Regions from separate parts of the Homo sapiens genome. Here region 1 is linked to region 2. The links are contacts of gene promoters, found by promoter capture Hi-C in human tissues and cell types (Jung and others, 2019). All regions are on one chromosome and are shown on one strand. The core of a region is centred on a gene start or on the middle of the fragment in contact, and the rest is flanking DNA. Distances in the headings are between cores, read along the strand shown.

Evidence for each region. The method cuts DNA at HindIII sites, captures the fragments that hold promoters and counts their contacts. A contact is called where the count stands out against the background at its distance.
Region 1: a contact is called between a fragment that was not itself captured here and the fragment with the promoter of LIN28A in region 2, in 5 of the 25 tissues and cell types used here (bladder, dorsolateral prefrontal cortex, lymphoblastoid cells and 2 more).

The regions. Positions count from the first base shown.
Region 1 is chr1:26,462,251-26,467,828 of GRCh38, reverse strand. The region is part of intron 8 of DHDDS (dehydrodolichyl diphosphate synthase subunit); the gene reads right to left. DHDDS-AS1 (DHDDS antisense RNA 1) reads left to right here and starts at 292. Exons shown (of 3, transcript NR_125953.1): 1 at 292-781; 2 at 4,396-4,453; 3 at 4,959-5,073. The HindIII fragment of the contact is 4,677 bases long and covers 1-4,271 here.
Region 2 is chr1:26,408,351-26,414,019 of GRCh38, reverse strand. LIN28A (lin-28 RNA binding posttranscriptional regulator A) reads right to left here and starts at 3,203. Exons shown (of 4, transcript NM_024674.6): 1 at 3,098-3,203; 2 at 2,438-2,634. The coding sequence starts at 3,128. RefSeq lists enhancers at 3,937-4,494, 4,495-5,054. The HindIII fragment of the contact is 10,463 bases long and covers 1-5,669 here.

The DNA of each region.
Region 1 (5,578 bases), core at 684-3,183, 55 kb before region 2:
CCTGCAAAGCCTTTGCACTAGAGCTCCTCCTGCCAAACCTATTCCATGTGTGAGAAACTCTATTTTCCTATGGTATCCTATACCCTGATGACCCTTCCCACATTCTACCTTGTATTACGATAAACTTGTATACATGTTTTTGTCCTAATCAGCCTGTAAGCACCTTGACTGCTCTGTCTTCATGGTTTAAAGAATATCTTACATGTGCACAACCACTTCATCTGTTGCCTCACTTGACCCTCACAATGGAGCTGTGAGGGAGGTACTTTCTGCTGGAGACAGACATGGAGCAGGGAACTGATTTGCTGTCTCTCAGCAATAAAGGTTTACTGCATGAATAAGGATGACAAATGAGAATTCTGGACTGTCCCCCCCGGCTCCTGAATAATCCCAGGCATTCAAGAATACTTCTCTTCTGCTATTACAATGAATTACATGTGGAGCTATGAGGACTTCGGGCTTGAACAGTTGCCGTAGAGCTCTCCGTCTTGCTGGAAGGGCTTCTTCCAGGCCTTGGTCAGGAGGCTCCCTGGGTGCTACATACAGGATTTTTTTTGAGGATATGGAGATGCGCAGGACACGATCCCAGCAATCCAGGTGCTTACAGGCTGATTGTACAGCCATGCACACAGAGTGCCACGATGCAAAATAGGATGTGGTAAGGGTCATGCAGTTCAGAGGAGAAAGCAAGTGTGGCTGATGAACATCACGGAGCAGTGACCTTCATGGACAGACAGAATTTGAGCTGGCCCTTTAACCAATGAGGAGGATTCAAACAGAGGTGAGGTGTGTGGGGGGCAGGGAGAATATTCTGGCAGTGGGAGTAATGAGCAAAGATGCATGGAACCGAAGAGCCTGTTAAGGCCAGAGTAAGTCCACCTGGAGCACTGGGGTTTGAGAAGTTCCTAAGGCCTCCCTCACCTCTCTAAGGCTCTCTCTTACTCTGCAAAACCGGGATAAGAGTACCCACCTCACTGGGTTGTTTGAGGAAAAATGAGATAATGAATTTTCAGCCTACTGCTTGGCTATTAACTGTTAGCTGTTCTATCACCGCCACTTGTGGACTGGGCTAAGTAGTCTAAGTTTCTGGCAGAACAGAAAGGATGGGGGACGCTCAGCAACAGAGGGAGGAAATATGGAGCTAGCTAAAGCCACTTCATGAGGCGCAAGCTTCTTCCAGATGGCATCAGAGTGCATGCCAGCAATGGGGGCTGTAGCCCAGGCAGAGCCTGGCCCCTGTCTGCCAGGAATTAGCAGTTCATTGTTCAGATAGCAGAGTTGGGAGGGTGTCTGCTCGTCATTTTACAGAAAATGACAGCGAGGCTGAGATGGCTGAAGTTCCCTTGGCTTCTCCACTAAGATAACTTCTTGAGAGGACAATGTGAAGTGTATCTCGTGCCTGTGTATAAGCTCTACTTTCTAGGGGTGGAAAAGCTGGTGGCCTGTATCTGGATACCTGTCTATCCAGCTTCCACATGGTCTGAATCTACCCTTTCAATCTCAGAGGTGTTTCCAGTTCTTCTCAAGTACTTACCCTTGGGAAATCCAAGCTAACAGAAGTCCTAGAGGTCAACTTTTCTCTCCCTGACCATTTGTCTACTATCCTTGTATAATGACCAATCAGGGTAAGTGAGGGCGTTAATTCTTTCCTTAGAGACTTTTTGTACAGACCTTATCCAATCTTGGTGCAAGGGCTCCAAGAAGCTCACTTTGAGAAATGTGGTTCTAACCTATGAATCTAAATTCCTCCTGGGCATTATCCCTCTCTGCTCTTATTCTCTCCTTGGTAGAATCAGAGAACAAGATGTAATAGTCCCTCCAGTACTTAAATCTAAAAGTCCTCTACCACTCTGTTGGCACCTGGAGAGAGGCTGCAGGTCCTTGGCTTCAAAACATTAGCCAATGAAAAGTCCTTCCCCAAGCTGCAACCAGCCAGCCCAGGTCAGCAGCATGAGGAATGCATTTCTGAGGGCTGCTCTCAGGCAGAGAAGGGCACCTCCTACCAGAAACATGATGTTCTGAAGCACCCTCAGAGTCTCCTTGCCTGGGGAGTTGTACTGGGGACAGGATGTGCAGGGTGCTTTTCCAGAGAGGAGTCTGAGGAGAGGCCAAGAGACACACATGTGGGGAACAATATTGGCCACCATTCTTGGAAAATGAACTCTGTTCCAGCCACTGCACTCAGCACTTGACATGTGTTAGCTTACTGAATCCCTATCACAAACCTGCAAGGTAGGTATTACTGTAAACGCTACTTCTCTCATTTTACAGGTGAGGAAAATGATACTCTGAGGGGTTAAGTAACTGTACAGTCATATAGCTATGTAGGCAGTGCCAATATTCAAAGTCATGAATGTCTGAGACATTAACTCAAGCTTTTAGGCTAAGGTGGGAGGCTCGCTTGAGCCCAGCTGCTCAAGACCAGCCTGGGCAACATGGCGAGACCCCATTTCCACATGCATACATATATGCATACATACATAACTCAAGCTTTTATCCTGAGGAGAAGATAGTGACAACCTGAAGAGCAGAAGAAATATAATGTTCAATCCAGCCCGTTTAAATTGTGACAAATGTACTACAGGAAGCTTCGTGGGAACATGTGTCTTTTCCCTCTCTAATATCATCCTTGGAGATGAGGTGAACACTTTTTACTCATCTCCATCAGTGACCTCTCAAGGACCTACCATCCATGCAACTTGTGATTGAGGATCAGCTGCTCTGCACTGCCGCACACCCCCTCCCTGGCCTGATTCTCTATTTGTCCCTGCCTCTTTGCTGACAAGTCCTACTGCATCATAGTCAAGATCTCCCTTTGCCAGCCTTTAAGACTGGCTAGGTGACCACCTGGAGACTGTCATGGTCCATTCAGATACCAAGGTCTGGCTCCCCACAACTTGTAGCCAAGTCCCTGCTTCCCTTACGATCCACCCGCTGCCTTCCTCTCAGTAAGCTACTCTAGGTCCAGAGCCTAGCCCCTTGCCCTGGCTTCCTGCAGAGAATAGGGACACATTGGGCAGGGCCTAGAGACAGAGCAGCTCAGATTTTAAAATGGGAATTTGGGTGATGGGGCAAGAGCACAGACATACAGGTAGGAAACTGGAGGGCATGGAACAGGTAACTGGGAAGAGTCCAGTTTGGCCATGATACAGGGTCTGTAAAAGGGAGACATGAGAAAAGCCTGGAAAGACCTCTCTGGTCTGAGAACAAACTGGTGAGGATGCTGTTAGTCTGGATTCTCCCCTTAGTGCATCTGCCAAGGTGATATGATTTCTAGAAACAGAGCTTTGAAGCTTCTGGGGTAGAGAAAGCCTGGCCAGGACCTCCAAGGGCTCCTGCTGGAGAAGGCTTCAAGATAATCAGTATCTCTATTATAACTTTGGATTCCTTGCTCTAAAAACAGAGGCAATAATAATAGTATCTGCCTTAAAGCAGTTCACAGAATTTACTGAAAGGATGCCTGACATGTGGTAAGAACTCAATACTGGAAGGATGCCTGACATGTGGTAAGAACTCAATAAAAGTTTGCAAATATAGGCCGGGCGCAGCGGCTCATGCCTGTAATCCTAGCACTTTCGGAGGCCAAGGTGGGTGGATCACCTGAGGTCAGGATTTTGAGACCAGCCTGGCCAACATGGTGAAACCCTGTCTCTACTAAAAATACAAAAATTAGTTGTGCGTGGTGGCACGTGCCTGTAGTCCCAGCTACATGGGAGGCTGAGGCAGGAGAATTGCTTGAATCCGGGAGGCAGAGGTTGCAGTGAGCCGAGATCATGCCACTGTTCTCCAGCGACAGAGTGAGATTCCGTCTCAAAAAAAAAAAAAAAAAAAAAAAAGTTTGCAAATATGATCCATAGGTAAAAATGGAACACTTAATAGTTGACCTCAAACACCTTCCACCCCATCCCAGGAAACAGCAGAACTATACAACCAATTGCTATGGCCACAACCTAAGTGTCTTGGTTCCTAATAACATTATTATTTGTACTTATTTGTTTTAGCCTACAAGAAACAAGAGTTTCAGGCCGGTCGCGGTGGTTCACGCCTGTAATCCCAGCACTTTGGGAGGCCGAGGCGGGCAGATCACCTGAGGTCGGGGGTTTGAGACCAGCCTGACCAACATGGAGAAACCCCATCTCTACTAAAAATATAAAATTAGCCAGATGTGGTGGCACATGCCTGTAATCCCAGCCACTTGGGAGGCTGAGGCAGGAGAATCGCTTGAACCTGGGAGGCGGAGGTTGCAGTGAGCCGAGATCACGCCATTGCACTCCAGCCTGGGCAACAAGAGCGAAACTCCATTTCAAAAAAAAAGAAACAAGAGTTTCATAATTACATTACCAACATTGCCACTAACAATAAACCTCTTAAGTAATGTTTAATTTTGTGTTGCAGTTTGTATTATCCTGAAAAGAAATTCCACTAAAGATGAATAGCAGAGAACTGTGTTCAGGTAAGCTGAATTAATTCCTTTCTCTGGGGAGTTATATTATCACCTTGATATAGCTAGTTTCACTTGTTTCTATTTCAACATTTGTTTTTATCCCGTCTTCACTCCTCCCCTTCCCTACTGCCACCACCCTACCTCGAGGCGCATCCTCTCTCACCTGGACTACTGCAGGAGTTCTGTCTCTTGGCTTTAACTCCAGCCCGTTGAAAATTCTGAATGATTTTTACAAAATGCAACTCAGATCCCGTCATCCCCTGATTAAAGTCCTTCAGCTTTGTTACCATGACCTACAAGGCTCTATATGAGCCAAGGTCTGACTCTAGCCTCATTTCCTGCCCTTCTCCCTTGGCACATTGACCTCTTTTTTGTTCTTCCAAGACCCAAACTTTAACCTCAGTCTCTTTGCATTCTCTTCATTACTTTCTAGCACATCACTCTGTATTCTTCACTGCCTTATTACAATCGGAACTTATATATTTGTTTACTTGTTTATTTCTGTCTCCTCAAGAATACAAGTTCCACAAAGGTAGAGATCTTGTCCCTCTGGCTACCTGTTGACTCTCCTGTGCCTAATACAGTGCCTGATTCATACTACTCAATAAATACTTATGGAATGAATGAAACTTGAGTTAACTCCTCTGACAACCATATGCAAAGTATCTGAGAAACGTGAAATTACTATAAAAGACTTCTGAGCAGCCCAATTAGAGGTAAAAACACAAAAACTCATGCACCAAGCTCCTTTGGGCTTCATGCAGAGCCAGTTCACTCTCATTTTATATACATAATTCCAACAAGCTTGACTATCTGGTTTCCTTGTCTATAGCTGATTTAAAACAGTAAATACTATGGAAGAGGAGAGATACTGTCAAAATTAACTGTTGACAGCAGTAGGAAATGAAAGAGGGAGGACACAGAAAAATATACATGAAACCTCAAACCCAGGTATTCTGGGACCATCTAACTTAGAGCAAACAGCCCTACCCCTCAAGGATATTGTTGTACAATGAAGTGTTTAAAGATGATAATTACTATTATCATAATCATTAGAATATGACGGCCAGGCATGGTGGCTCATGTCTATAATCCTAGCACCTGGGGAGGCCGAAGCAGGAGGATCACTTGAGC
Region 2 (5,669 bases), core at 1,954-4,453:
CCGTCTTTACTAAAAATACAAAAAATTAGCCGAGCGTGGTGGCACATGCCTGTAATCCCAGCTACTCAGGAAGCTGAGGCAGGAGAATCGCTTGAACCTGGGAGGCGGAGGTTGCGGTGAGTGGAGATCATGCCATTGCACTCCAGCCTGGCCAACAAGAGCCAAACACCATCTCAAAAAAAAAAAAAAAAAAAGCAACAAACAAACAAACAAACAAACAAAAAAACAAGTGCAAAGACTGGAATCACTAATCTAACTTACGGTTAAGGTGGGGTTGGAGGACCCCTGACCCAAGCCTTTCTGGCATGCTACCATTATCAGAGCTACCAGGTAAAGGCTCAGGGAATTTCCACCCATCATTGTGCTTTGTGAGTAGAATGGGAAGAGCTGGGGATTAGAGAGACAAATTCTTAATTCTCTTCCAGCTCAGCTCCCTATTGACAACTTACTCAACTATGGGTTCCTGGATGTTCCAAGAGCCTAAAATCCAGAGTATTTCCAAGCCAGCACATCTGACCCAGCATGGTGTAGACTCAATGCCTGCTCTATGCCATCCAATAGTTTCCCAATTGCTCTAGATCCTAAGGTGAAGCCTGCTGAGGCCCAAGTCCCCATTTGCTCAAACAAACAAACAAACAAAACAAGAAAACACCTTCCTTGGGGTATGTATATCACCAAGGAACCCAGAAGATGAGGGGATACATTCCCCTCAGCCCCTCCCTATCTGGCAGCCTTTGGATGGGAGATGAGAAAACGTTGGGTCTGACTCTTTTATTCCAGCCTCCCAAAGTTGGGGGAGCTGTCCAGTCCCCAGACCAGGAAAGATTTTAATCTCTTTGTGATCAGATAAATGGGAGAGTGGGGGAGGCTTGCTACCCTGCTGAGGAGGGCCATTCAAAGCTGGTTCCTGTAATAAAGTGATTTAATAGATCTAAAAAGGCCAATTCCCTTCTTTCTCCCACAATTACTTCCTGTGGGTTATCATTCACATATGTAAATGAGACAGAGAAGGGAGAAAAGCCACTAGTGGGAAACTAGCTGTCTAATGGGGGGTTGGGGGAATAAGGGTGCTGCAAAGGGGCAGCTCAGTATCCTGCTGCAGGTCCTCTTGGCAGATGTTCAAGTAGCCCACTGACCCCATGGCCCCAACAGTAAGTGGTGGCTCCCCATCTCCCTGCGTCTATTTCCCTTGTTTGTTCCTCACTGAAGGCTGTGCTCAAAGACGTCCCTGCTGCCTCCAACTAGTCCATCCAGCATCTCCCTTCTCTACCCCTCCCCCAAAGAATGCCATCCCTTCAGGCTCCAACCCTTAATCCCCACATCCTCCTTTCCCCTCCCCCACACCTCCTAAAGCCAACCTCCCTTAAGTAACCCCTCCCTGCCCGGCCTGGGTGTCAACCTACACGATCTGGGATTAGCAATTTCTTCTTTCCAGATCCAGTCCCAAACCTCCAAAGATGGAAGGGCCATAGGCAGCAAGCAACTTCCTTTCCATGGTCTTTATGGGTAGCTGGTGGCCCAGGACCACCGGAATGCCTCTAGGATATTCAGGAAGGGGAAGCCTGGGAGGAGGGAGACCTGAAGTCTCTGGCTCCTTGTTTGAGGCCAGGAATGTTAAGACAGCAATCAATGGCTGTCTGGGGCCATAAATGCCAAGCGGAGAATAGGACCAGAGGCCAGCCTCCCTTCACCCCCTGCCCTGCGACACTGAATTTCACCCCCTACTGTGCTGCCCTGCTTTAACTGAGAACTTGGGGTTGCGACCTACCGACTTCCCTCCCAGCCTGGCCCAGGAATGTAAGGAAGGCCTGGGCTCTTTGGGTTTTCCTTCCTCACGGGAACTGGACAGCAAAGACCCCAGTCCTGAGCTTTCAAGCCCCCACAGGGATCCTTCAGGGATCTGCCAAACCCAGTTTTTAGTGACCAGCCAGGTGAGGTCTGCATTAAAAAGGGGATGAGGCTGACTTCTCGGCTTTACGCCCCTTGGGTCCAGTAGCCAGTTGCCCTCACTCTCTCCCGCCTTCTGAGCTCCATTCAGACGTTGGAGGAGCTGGGCTCCCGGCTTAGGCCCGGCATGTGCTTCCCTGGCCGGCCTGCTCGCCCTCCCCCCACCGGCAAGCACAATACAACCTTAGTTTCTGCCACATGGGGTCACCTCCCTGCCCCCTGCCCCTTCCCAGGGGAAAGAGGTAATAGACACGTGGTAAGCCGGAGGGGTTCCCGGAAGGGGGCGGGGGTGCTGATAATTGGTGCTGCCTCCCACTACTCCCCCACGAGATAGTTAACAGGGACTCAGAATTGGGGTGCCGAAGCAAAGACAGGGATGCATAATGAGGGCTCCCGATGGCCCTCAATTCAACTGCGAGCCCGGAGCCCACCCGTGGATATGGGCGCCTAGACGCCCTTCCCTGGGCAAAGTTACCGGAATCAGTCTCACCTGGTGCACAAAGACATCCACTGGGGGGTCGAGCGCGACCCCGGCGCGGGCGGTCATGGACAGGAAGCCGAACCCCATGCGCACGTTGAACCACTTACAGATGCCCGCACCGTGCAGCAGCTGAGGCTCGTCCGCCGCCCGGGCCGCGTCCTCCGGCGCCTCCTCGGGCGCCTCTTCTGCCGCCTTGGCGCAGCCACCTGGAGAGAGGGAGGGCCGGGCACTTAGCTGGGGGGCACGGAATCGGAGGGCCGTCTCGGGCCCCAGGCAGGGAGACCCGAGTATCCAGCCCCACAAGTGGACAGCCAGGAGGGGGCAGCTACCAAGCAACAGAAGAGAAGAAACCTATCCCGGTCGCCTCCCGCGTTCCCCTAGCGTACACCGGGACAGTAGTGCCCCGAAAGTTTTGCTCCTCTTCCCACAACGCGTTTCCCAGAGACTCACGGCGGGACAAGCCTCTCCTCTCCATCCACCCACGTAGTCTGGCGCGCACGCCACTGGGACACCAAGGTTCCTGGCCCCAGAGACGGCCCTATGAAGCAGAAGGCCGCACCGTCTTGGGGTCCTTTGGGCAGCCTAGGACTCAGTTCCCCACCTCCCTTCTACGTGGCTCCTGGCCGCCCCTGAATCCTAAAGTGTCCCCGCTAAGTCCCGAGCTCGAACCTGCAAACTGCTGGTTGGACACGGAGCCCATGGTCGTCGGCTGAGCCCGTGGCCCCGGGCCCCTGGTCGGGCGGCTGCTGGCCCCGGAGAAGTCCGAAGGCAAAGGGTTGGTTCGGAGAAGAAGCTGCTACATCTTCCCCCGCACAATAGCGGTGGGAGGGCCCACGGCTTTTCAAAGGCTCCCAAATTCTAAAAGACAATGACCCAACCCCCCGCGGGCAGCCCCCTCCCCTCCCCTCCCTCTCCTTTCCCCTCCCTTTCCCTCCGGCTCCAGCTCCGGCCCTCCCCCACAACTCCGGTCTCTGACACCTCTGGGGTGTCCCTTCTCAGAACCTTGAGGTTTGACACCCCCTCCCCACACGCACAACTGGAGATGGGTCTGTCTGCCCTAGAAGACTTGAGTACCCCGGAATTTGAGATCCTGCACTTTGGACTCAGTAGGGGTCCCCAAAGCAGATACAGGTGGGGGACCTGGTGGGGGGGGTAGTTTTAAAACCACGTGACTGCACACACACACACACACACACACACACACACACACACACCACCCCCACCCCCCGGGCAGATAATTATACATTCCAGAGAGTTGGGGGAGGGAGGTGTGAGCCTGGCGGCGCTGGCCAATCAGAAACACAAACCACCTGTCAAGGGAGAAATGAATGGGCCCTCCCCCTCCCCCAGCCCTTGAGCTCCCCTCCCCCTCTCTTCCCCCTCAGGCCTCTGAGCTGACCCGGCTGCTTGGAGCTGACCCGCTCTCACCCCCCACCCCCGTGTGCTTAGATAGACCTGGAGTTCTGGACACTGGGAAGCCCGGGATGGGGGAGCAGGGGAGAGGCTGGGGACACACAGGGCTGATCTGTCCTGACCAAAGCGCTGCCTTCCAAAGTCTGTCTGCCTCTGACTACATCTGAATGTCTGCCTCCCAGAGTTTCTGACTCAGAGTTTTTCTGGGCCTCCCCCAGTTAGAAAAGAGAAAGTGCTCTTAATTGATTCGTTGTAAAGAATTCTTCCTTCTTTCCTCCCTCCAAACCTGTGTGTCTAAAGTTAGCCCCAGGTAAGCTCCCTGGAGAGCAGGAGGAACCCAAAGAGTCTTGAAGCTGTTTCTCCACCAGCTGCCTTCTCGTCCTACCCCCACCCCATCCCCATCCACTGCTGAGAGAGGGACTGGGTGGGCTGGTGGGTAGAGGTACTTCCTCTCTACTCTTCACACTCTTAGATTCCTAGGCCCTCCTTGTTTCAGAGTAACCACCCTAAAATGCGCTCCCATTCCGTAGTGGGGCTGGTGGAGGAACAGGACTGGGGGGCCTCCTCATTTGAAGAGGTAACCTCCCCTTCTAGGAGATAAAGACGGCTGGCTAGTGGGGGTGGCTACTGCCCTGGTCGGAGATGGACAATGGCCCGGGGCTCAGTGCACGGCCCTGGCCCTGCCCCTTCACTTCCGGTGTTCAGTTCAAACTGGACAATGCCAGCTCCGGCCAGTTCCCCTCCCCCACCACTACAACCCATTTAAAGGGACAGAGCCTGCTTTCGGGGGCATCCGCTTGCTCTGAATTCAATCTTCTCCACCGAGTGTGCAGAACCTTTTGGAATTCTCACGCTGTGGCTCTGTGTGTGTGTTTGTGTGTGTGTGTGTGTGCACGTGCGGATGTGGGCACATGTGTATTTCAGAGAGACCGGATGAGTGGGGGTAGGGAAGGGGAAGATGGGGAGGAAAGCAAGAGACTGCAGAAGTTATTTCCCTTTCTCTCGTACGGGGTGCTCTCCAAGAAATGAAAACTTGAGCGTAAGGAATGGGAGGTGGGACTTCGTGGGGTAAAAAGGACAAGAGTGGCCCTTTGCTGCTCCGCCTAAAAAATACATATCGTTAACAAATATTATTAGCAGTGCCCCACTCCCATCTGAGGACTCTAATTTAGAATTATCAAGAGTTCTCCTAGTACATCAGCCAAAGCCATTTTTATTTACATAATTCTCCTCTCCCAAAAGTCTTATCTCCCGCTGTTAGTGGCGCCCTTAAAATATATTCGCTCCGTGTACCTCTGTTCCTAAGACTCAGGAGCAAGTGGCTGAGGTCTGGCTGAAGAAAAGGGAGGGAAAGGGGAGTTGAACGCTCTGGCTTCTCTAGGTGGGTTCTCAAGTGATGCGAATTCGGTTCCCCGGGAATGCGCGGCCTGCTTCTCTGTCCAGGGTCCTGAGGGCTCCAGCAGCTCTGTCCACGGTGCTGAATTGAGTCACGCTGTCTTGATTCCCAGCTCACAGTTTTGAGAATAACTTCTTGAGTTCCCACCTCCAAGTCTTTCCCAGAAAACCTGATTTTCCTCAATGCCGGTTCCCGCTGTGGTAACACTGACACATTTCAGATGAATGAAGACACTTTTTTTGGGGGACGGAGTCTTGCTGTGTTACCCAGGCTGGAGTGCAGTGGCACGATATCTGCTCACTGCAACGTCTGCCTCCTGGGTTCAAGCAATTCTCGTGCCTCAGCCTCCCGAGTAGCTGGGATTACAGGCACATGCTACCACGCCCGTCCAATTTTTGTATTTTTATAGAGACGGGGTTTACCATGTTGGCC